Linked DNA regions of Homo sapiens: all the other regions are linked to region 2. The links are contacts of gene promoters, found by promoter capture Hi-C in human tissues and cell types (Jung and others, 2019). All regions are on one chromosome and are shown on one strand. The core of a region is centred on a gene start or on the middle of the fragment in contact, and the rest is flanking DNA. Distances in the headings are between cores, read along the strand shown. Region 1 overlaps CTCFL (CCCTC-binding factor like). Region 2 holds the start of PCK1 (phosphoenolpyruvate carboxykinase 1). Region 3 overlaps ZBP1 (Z-DNA binding protein 1).

Evidence for each region. Contacts are between HindIII fragments. The study calls those that stand out against the background at their distance.
Region 1: a contact is called between a fragment that was not itself captured here and the fragment with the promoter of PCK1 in region 2, in 4 of the 25 tissues and cell types used here (aorta, mesendoderm cells, neural progenitor cells and 1 more).
Region 3: a fragment that was not itself captured here is called in contact with the fragment with the promoter of PCK1 in region 2 in 1 of the 25 tissues and cell types used here (psoas muscle).

Annotation. Positions count from the first base shown.
Region 1 is chr20:57,505,900-57,508,599 of GRCh38, reverse strand. All of the region lies in intron 9 of CTCFL (CCCTC-binding factor like), which reads left to right. Among named protein-coding and RNA genes, the nearest start is that of CTCFL, 18 kb to the left of the region's middle. The HindIII fragment of the contact is 6,086 bases long and covers 1-2,700 here.
Region 2 is chr20:57,559,688-57,562,615 of GRCh38, reverse strand. PCK1 (phosphoenolpyruvate carboxykinase 1) reads right to left here and starts at 1,506. Exons shown (of 10, transcript NM_002591.4): 1 at 1,413-1,506; 2 at 981-1,244; 3 at 364-545. The coding sequence starts at 1,204. The HindIII fragment of the contact is 15,943 bases long and covers 1-2,928 here.
Region 3 is chr20:57,613,241-57,616,216 of GRCh38, reverse strand. It overlaps ZBP1 (Z-DNA binding protein 1), which reads left to right. Exons shown (of 8, transcript NM_030776.3): 3 at 637-705; 4 at 1,157-1,330; 5 at 2,887-2,976. Among named protein-coding and RNA genes, the nearest start is that of ZBP1, 5.7 kb to the left of the region's middle. The HindIII fragment of the contact is 3,943 bases long and covers 1-2,976 here.

The DNA.
Region 1 (2,700 bases), core at 68-2,567, 54 kb after region 2:
TTACTTAAGTCACAGTAAATCCCCCATGGAAAGATCCCTCTATCTCAGGAGGACAGTGTCACACCAGGAGAGTTTAAACCCGATTATAGAAACCTGCCAGGACTTCAGGAGCATCTGTCATGCCTTAGGAAAGTGGTTATTAGTTTTTTAAAATCACAAAATTCTTGAAGAATCCTATGAAAGTGTGGTCTCCTCATCCCCTAAAAAAAAAAAAAAGGACAATCCAACACACAAAATCTTACAATAGGGAGTTATCAGACTCCCCAAAGAACCCCACCTTTTAGTGTAATATTTTCAAACAGTGAACTAGATTTAGGCTACTTGACAGAGAGAATGCAGTTTTCACACATTTTTTCAGATGTCCCTAGAATAATGTTATTGGTGTCTATAATCCCAGCTACTTGAGAGGCCAAGGTGGGAGGATTACTTGAGGCCAGGAGTTTGAGATCAGCCTGGGCAACACAGGGAGACCCCCATCCCTCCAAAAAAATTAGCTGGTTGTGGTGGTGCACCCCTGTAGGCCTAGCTGCTCAGGAGGCTGAGACAGGAGGACCACTTGAGCCCAGGAGTTGGAGGCTACAGTGAGTCACGATCGCACCACTGCACTCTGGCCTCAAAGACAGAGTGAGACCCTGTCTCTAAAATAACTTTTTTAATTAAAAAAAAAAGAATAGTGCTGTTGGTACTGGACTAAGCAATACATTTATGGTTTTATTCTTTTAGGTGTTGTATTAGTTATCTATTTCTGTATGACAGATTACCTCAAAATGGAGTGGCTTAAAACCACAAACATTTATCACCTGACAGATTCTCTGGGTTGGGAACTCGGAAGTGGCTGAACTGGGTGGTCCTGGCTCAGGGCCACTCCTGAGGCTGCAGTCAGGATGTCCGCCAGGGCTGCATCATCCGAAGGCTGGACTGGGGCCAGAGGATCCACTTCCAGGACAGCTCCGCCACACAACTGCTGGCACCGGCCTCAGTTCCTTGCTACAGGGACCTCTCTGCAGGGCTGCTTGAGTGTCCTCCTGACTCAGAGCAAGTGAGAGAGTGCAAGTAGGAAGCCATGGTGCCTTTTGCAGTCTAGTCCTAAAAGCGGCACAACAGCCAGCTGTGGGGGCTCACACCTGTAATCCCAGTACTTCGGGAGGCCAAGGCAGGTGGATAACTTGAGGCCAGGAGCTCAAGACCAGCCTGGCCAACATGGTGAAACCCTGTCTCTACTTTAAAAAAAAAAAAAGAAAATAGCTAGGCGTGGTAGTGCACGCTTGTAATCCCAGCTACTTGGGTGGTTGGGACGGGAGGATCACTTGAACCCAGGAGACAGAGGTTGCAGTGAGCTGAGATTGTGCCACTGGCCTCCAGCCTGGGCGACAGAGCAAGACTCTGTCTCAAAAAAAAAAAAAAAGTGGCACATTCTAGTCACAAGAAATGAACCATGAAGTCCCACCCACACTCGAGTGGGGAATGAAGTTTCTTTTGAAAGGAACAGCATCAAAGAATTTCAGGACATTTAAAAACCACTGCACATGGCTAGCTAGATCCTTGGACCATGTAGGCTTCAGCCTAACTTTATAAAAGTTTTATAAAAGTTGAATTTCCTGAAGTTGACTATTTTTTTAAAAATATTTCTTCTTAAAACAGTAGTGTAGTTGTGTTTTTCTGAGTAGCACAGTGGGATAGTTCTGGAATGTCAACCCTATTAGTTTAAAATTTCAAATAAAAGCTGTGGCAGTGCTCCCAAAACACCATTGCTCATGCAAAAATTGTGAAGAGTTAAAATTAACGAGTAGAATTCTAAAGAGAAAAAAACTGCTCTTTGGTGCAAGAAATAAAAATGTAGAGAAAAGAACAAGTCTGCCTCATGCAGTCCCTCAGAACATAAAATTTTTGAAATTCCGATTCAAGAAAGCATATTTGGACTTGTGTCTAAAATATAAAAAGAACTCTTATAACTCAGTAAATAGACAGATACCCAATGAAAAACAGGTAAAGTATCTAGGCCAGGCGCGGTGGTTCACACCTGTAATCCCAGCACTTTGGGAGGCAGAGGCAGGTGGATCACAAGGTCAGCAGTTCAAGACCAGCCTGGCCAAAATGATGAAACCCCATCTCTACTACAAATACAAAAATTAGCTGGGCATGGTGGCACATGCCTGTAATCCTAGCTGCTCAGGAGGCTGAGGCAGGAGAATTGCTTGAACCCAGGAGGTGGAGGTTGCAGTGAGCTGAGACTGTGCCACTACAGTCCAGCCTGGGCAACAGAGCGAGACTGTCTCAGGAAAAAAACAAAACAAAACAGTTAAAGTATCTAAATAGACCTTTCTCCAAAGAAGACATACAGGTGGCCAGTAAGCGTAGCGTCATTAATCACCAGGGCAACGCAAATCAGTTTCTGCCACGACTTCTTGAGTCTGCCCTTGTGTCATGGAAGCAGCTGTGGATGCAGTGTGTAAATGAATAGACATGGCTGTGTTCCAGTAAAACTTGCTTTCACAAACAGTTGGCAGCCAGATTTGACCCACTGGTTGTCGTTTGCCAACCCCAGTGTCTAAGCATAAAATGGAAGAAGTTTAAACAACCTGTTCCATCACCCCCATTATGTGTAAATTCTTCCTTCTTCCATCATAAACGCAGACAGTCCTGTTAAGCACAGTGGGAAAGTCAAAATGGGAATCAGGCGGGATGTTTCGCATAATTTGC
Region 2 (2,928 bases), core at 257-2,756:
CCATTTTCACGGTGTTCCACTAACACCACCACACCCTGCTGGTCACCAGCCCCCTGGGTTAGAAGAGGCCACTGGAAAGTGAACAGCCTGCTGAAATTAAAGAGTTTTCATAAATGTGCAATTGGGTCCCACCAAGCTATTTAAAACCCATATGCATGGAACTAGTTTTCACGTTTGTATAAGACAGTCTGTAAAAGCAGAAGAGGGATGTGCATTTTCAATACATTGCCAACTTCATGTATGGAACTGAAAGACATCTGAGGTGGTGGGAGCTTCCATTATTGTTTGAATTACCATTAGGATAGATGTAAATAAGAAAAGGCTCTCTGCTGTTTTACCCAATCAAATCAATGTTCCGCTCACCTTTCATGCACCCTGGGAACCTGGCATTGAACGCTTTCTCAAAATCCTCCTCTGACATCCAGCGACCGAGCTGGCTGAGGCCTGTTTTGGGGATGGGCACTGTGTCTCTTTGCTCTTGGGTGACGATAACCGTCTTGCTTTCGATCCTGGCCACATCCCTGGGGTCAGTGAGAGCCAACCAGCTGCAAAAATCACAGGCTTCCTTTCAGCCAAGCACCACGGGCAGCGAACCATCTCCTTCAGTACCGTGGCTTTCCATGCCTAGCAGAGTGCTGAGCACGCTAACAACAGTCCATCAGTGTGAACACACAGACCATCTAAGACATGGCCAGGTGGACATTTACTCCACTAGGACCTGGTCTGTAGGAGAGGGGCTGCCTTTTTTTTAATCAGGAATCTAGTTGGCAGAGCTTTTGTGCACACACCTCATTTAAAGCTTGGGCTGGCCCACTAATGTCACAAAATTCAAGTCTGTATGGTTCTGACCATTGCATTCATCTTCTCAAGAGTCTGAAACTACCCGAAGGCCTTCATTCACCTTTCTCCACCAACTCCCAGGAGACGCAGGGGAGCCCTGCCTGCAGGGTGCTGGGACAGGCAGCGGGGGCCGAGCTTACCAGTTGTCATACTTCTTCAGCCGCCTGAGGATGCCCTCTTCCTCCATCTGGCCCAGAAGCCGCCCATTCTCCTCCTCAGAGCCGTCACAGATGTGGATGTGATCAGGCTGACACAGCTCAGCGTTATTCTCGAGAAACTCCCTCACTGCCTGGGGTAGGCTGTCCAGGCTTCCCTGGACAACTTTGGCCGAGAGGTTCAGGCCGTTTTGCAGCTGAGGAGGCATTTCTGCAGAGTGCTGCTAAGGGGCACGAATGTGAGGTCACCTGAAATAGAAAACGCAAGCGTCCTGAACAAAAACAACAACAGACACCTTCAAACACATTCGACGGCCTTTTGCCAGGGCTGTGCATTGCCAAATAGTTATTGCTCTCAGGAAAAAAATGAGTTCATCTTTGTAATTTTTCAAAATGTAAATGCAAAGCTCTACTTACCTTTCTTCTCTTTGGATGATCTCGAAGGGAGATCCACAGGTTTCTTTCCGGGCTCTTCCCGCCAGCAAGTTTGTGTTCCCAGTGGGAAGGCCGTGCTTGGTGGCAGAACCTCCCAGCTTTAAATACTGTGGAAAAGAATAGCCCTGCCCCTCAGCTGCACCCAGGGAGGCTCGCCACTGACGTCAGGGGGCAGGTCTCTGGATCACGGCCAGGGTCAGTTATGCTTTGGGCCAACTCACTGCAACACGCCCCAGGGAGATAATCATTGAACAGATAGTTGTTAATGAATGCTGGGAGACTTCGAGCCCTCAACCAACCATAGTGAGTTTTGACACAACTTCCAACTGACTAAACCTTGACCCATTTTACTGCTGTTGCAAAACACAACACCCTTTTCTTAACAGGCAGGTGGGTCAAGGACAAGGTTGGCCGGGGCACCTGCTAGCAGCACATTTTGTGTACCAAGAGCTGCTGGTTGGCAAAACACCACAGCTATAAGATGTCACCCCATAGTCAAAGGTCACAGTCAAAGTTCATGGGAAGGATGCACCCTAACTTGGGCAAATATGTGGCTTATTGGCAAAGATTGGAAATGCCTAACCTAACTGGGGGCTAATCACTGTATTGATTGTCTGCTCTGTGCCGCCCCCGCCCCCTGCCCCGATGTAAACTCCATGAGGGCAGGGATTTCTCCCTATTTTGTTCATTTTTCTCTCTGTAGTGCTTGGCATAGAGTAGGCACAGGATGCACACATGCTGAGCACTGTTCTAAGAGCTTGGCATCATTACTACCCTCTGAGGTGGAGGCTATGAACAACCCATGTACAGATAGGGAAACTGAGGCAGAGATTGTGTAGCCACTCACAGCCGGCTGGTGGGTTGCAGAGTGAGGATCTGAACATGAGCAAGTTGGGCCCTGGAGCACCACGTCTCTCCCTGTGAGGTACCGCCACCTTTCCAGAACCTTCCCTGTGTCCTCCAGGGAGTTCTGGGCTGAGTGCAGTTACTCCTGCAGTCCACTGGCCACTGTTCTCTTCCCTGGCAAGTCTTAGAGTTTAGGGAGTGGAGGGGGCTTGGCAGTTTTGCTAGATTATATGCTTAAGCAATGAAACCTTTATAACAGTTGTAAAGAATTTGCTTTGCAAGCCATCAGACCTTCAGTCAAATTTAATGAGCTATGGAAGCTGCTTGCTGGAGTTTGGAGAACACAGGGTGAAATGTCAAAAGAACGGGGCTAGGTCTCAACCCCCCACAGCCAGCCCACACTTCCATGGAAGCCTCTCTACCTAAGATGAGGTCAGGTGGGGACTTGGCCCATCTCCCCGCTGGGGTGTGGGATGATCCCTGAGATAATCCCAGGACTGGGCTTAGAAAGAGCTGCTGTGGCAAATACAAGTCACTGTGAATGGCAGCCTCCGACCAAACTCACTTAGAGAACCCTCCTGGGGGCTTGGGTCACACTGTGTTGGGCGTGGGTCACACATCATCAAGTTCCACCAAAATTATCAACCCATTG
Region 3 (2,976 bases), core at 436-2,935, 53 kb before region 2:
TGACCCTGCAGGGAGCATCCTGGCAATGGACAAGCACAGATTTGAGCCTGGGTTCGAATCTGAACTCTGCCACATGGGAGCTCACAGGTTTCCTCTCTCTGTGCCTTGGTTTCTTTTTCTGGTTGATGGAGCTCACAGCAGGGCTGCTTGGTAGGGGTTGCTGAGAGGAGGCCCTGCGTCAGGCTCAGCCCAGCCCTGCACACAGGAGGTACTCTGCAGAACACTAACAATTATAATAGAAAATCATCATGATGGAGACAGCAATGACGCCATGGTCCCAATCACAGAACATATGCAGTCCCACCAGCCCCCCTTTTCTAGCTTTACAGCCCACAGCCAGAAGGAGCTGCCATTTATCATGCACTTAAGATTAGCCAGGCACTGTTTTGGGGTTCACCCAGCCCTCACACAACCCCAGGAGGCAAAGGAGGCTGAGCCCCGGAGAAGTTAATCGGCAGGAAGCCGCAGCTGCCAGGGCGCAGGCAGGATTTGAAGTCAAGTGTGTTGAACTCTGGAGTCTGAGTTTGCAACTACCGGCATTGCCACTTACCCCTAGGGAGCTGCCCACCTTTGTGGGGTGGAGGCCTGGTGCTGTCTTCTGTCCCCCACCCCTCTGACCCATCTTTCTTTCTGCAGCCGAGAGGCCCCAGCAACATGCAGCTACAATTCCAGAGACCCCTGGCCCTCAGTTCAGCCAACAACGGGGTAAGTTTTTGCATGTCCCTTCAGTTCCCGGGACACAGGATCCCACTCCCCAGGAACCCCAGGCCCTCCTTGAGGGTACAAGATCTCACCAGTGTTCAGGGGCCCTGTCCCACCCACCAGGCAGCTCCCATACAGTGTTCAGAGCCAAGACCCAGCCCTCACAGTGGGAGAATCTGAATGGCTGAGCAGTGATTTCTCCAGTCAGACAATAGCTGACCCTCACCATGCACCCGCCACATGCCAGGCCCAGCGCAGAGCACTCTGTGCACATCCCCCACCCTCAGGGCACCTCTGCGGTGCGTCATGATGACCCCGTTATCATGACACCCATTTTACAGATGAGGAAACCAGGCCTTGAGGGGCTGGGTCCAGGGCCACACAGCTAGGAAGCGGTGGGGCAGATGCAAACCCTAGGACTACTCCCTAACCACCTGGCCATCCTGCCTCCCAGAGGAAGACATCTACAGGTTTCTCAAAGACAATGGTCCCCAGAGGGCCCTGGTCATCGCCCAAGCACTGGGAATGAGGACAGCAAAAGATGTGAACCGAGACTTGTACAGGATGAAGAGCAGGCACCTTCTGGACATGGATGAGCAGTCCAAAGCATGGACGATTTACCGCCCAGGTAGGCCCCCGGCTGCCTGTGTCTGGGCTGCAGAGGGAAACCATGACACTAGTGCTTGGTCTTTGCTGGGTGCTCTGCTGAGCAGCTCACCGGAAACTGCTAGAAGCTTCTGGAGGTCCTACCGACAATTCACTGCAAGGGCTTCCAGGAGGAAGGGGTGTGCTGGCAAGATTAACCAGGGACAGCTTTTTGGAGGCGTGGCCCAAGGTCTGCAGTTGCAGAAGGCCAGTGAATGGGACGGAGGTGGCCCATTCCCAATGTTCTCAGCTCTGGGGTGCAGGGATCAGTCTGAGTTTGGGAATGGTTTTCTTTGAGCACTTTGCTCAAGTTGGGGTTTAAAAGTTGGCAGAAGAGAAGGCAAGACTAGTCTTGGACCCCTACCGGCTGGAGCCCCAGGGTCAGCGCAGGGTCAGCTTCCCCGTGAGACCTAACACACACAGGGCCAAGATCCAATAGGTGCATGGCATTCTCAGGGGTCCTTGAAAATGTTTTAATTTTAATTTCATTTAAAATCAGAGGAAATGAATACTACAATAATAATGAATATCTAAAAATGGGCCAGGCACGGTTGCTCACGCCTGTAATCCTAGCACTTTGGGAGGCTGAGGCGGGCAGATCACCTGAGGTCAGGAGTGACCAGTCTGGCCAACATGGCGAAACCCCGTCTCTACTAAAAATACAAAAATTAGCCAGGTGTGGTGGTGGGCGCCTGTAATCCCAGCTACTCGGGAGGCTGAGGTAAGAGAATAGCTTGAACCTAGGAGGCAGAGGTTGCACTGAGCTGAGATCGCGCCATTGCACTCCAGCCTGGGCAACAAAAGCAAAACTCTGTCCCCCAAAAAATAAAATAAAATAAAATTTAAAAATCCAGCCTGGGTTATCCTTGCTATACAATGTAATTTAAATATTTGTGTATGGGGGAAGGGCCCACAAAGGCACAGGAGCTGAGACCCTGGAGGGTGGTGATGGGCCCCGCACAGTCTGGGCAGGTGCCTGCCTCAACCTCTGCAGGGCTGACTCTGCTACTCATGACGGGTGCCCGAGGGGGTCTCAGCATCCTAGGGCTGCTGTGAGGAAGGAATAACGCGTGACAGCCACCAGATTTTAAACACTAGTGACAAATTCAAATATTGAAAATGTCATGGGAGCCAAACACGACCGATCTGGCCCAATGGGCTGCTGTTTCTCGGCCATTACTCAAGGGAAAAGGGCAATGGTGCAGGTGCTCGGGGGTCCGGGCTGTGGCTGCCCCCTAGGGAGAGCAGTGTGGGGCCCCTGCGGTCCTCCCAGCCAGCAATCATGGCGGCCCAGCCATGGAGGCAGCAAAAGACACAGGTAGGGTGACTCACAGTGGCTATTTTCAAGTGAGGCTCCCTCTGAGGTACCTGTGGTGTCTGTTAAACACCCAGCTCTGGCCTCCCACTTGGCCCTACTGACTCGGAACGCCCAGGGTATTTTAACAAGCTCCCCAGGAGAATTTGGTGCTGCCGACTGGTATTGGGAACCCCTGACCCATAGACAGTGGCAAAGGGATACAGTTGAATATTATTTTGCAGAAGATTCTGGAAGAAGAGCAAAGTCAGCCTCAATTATTTACCAGCACAATCCAATCAACATGATCTGCCAGAATGGACCCAACAGCTGGA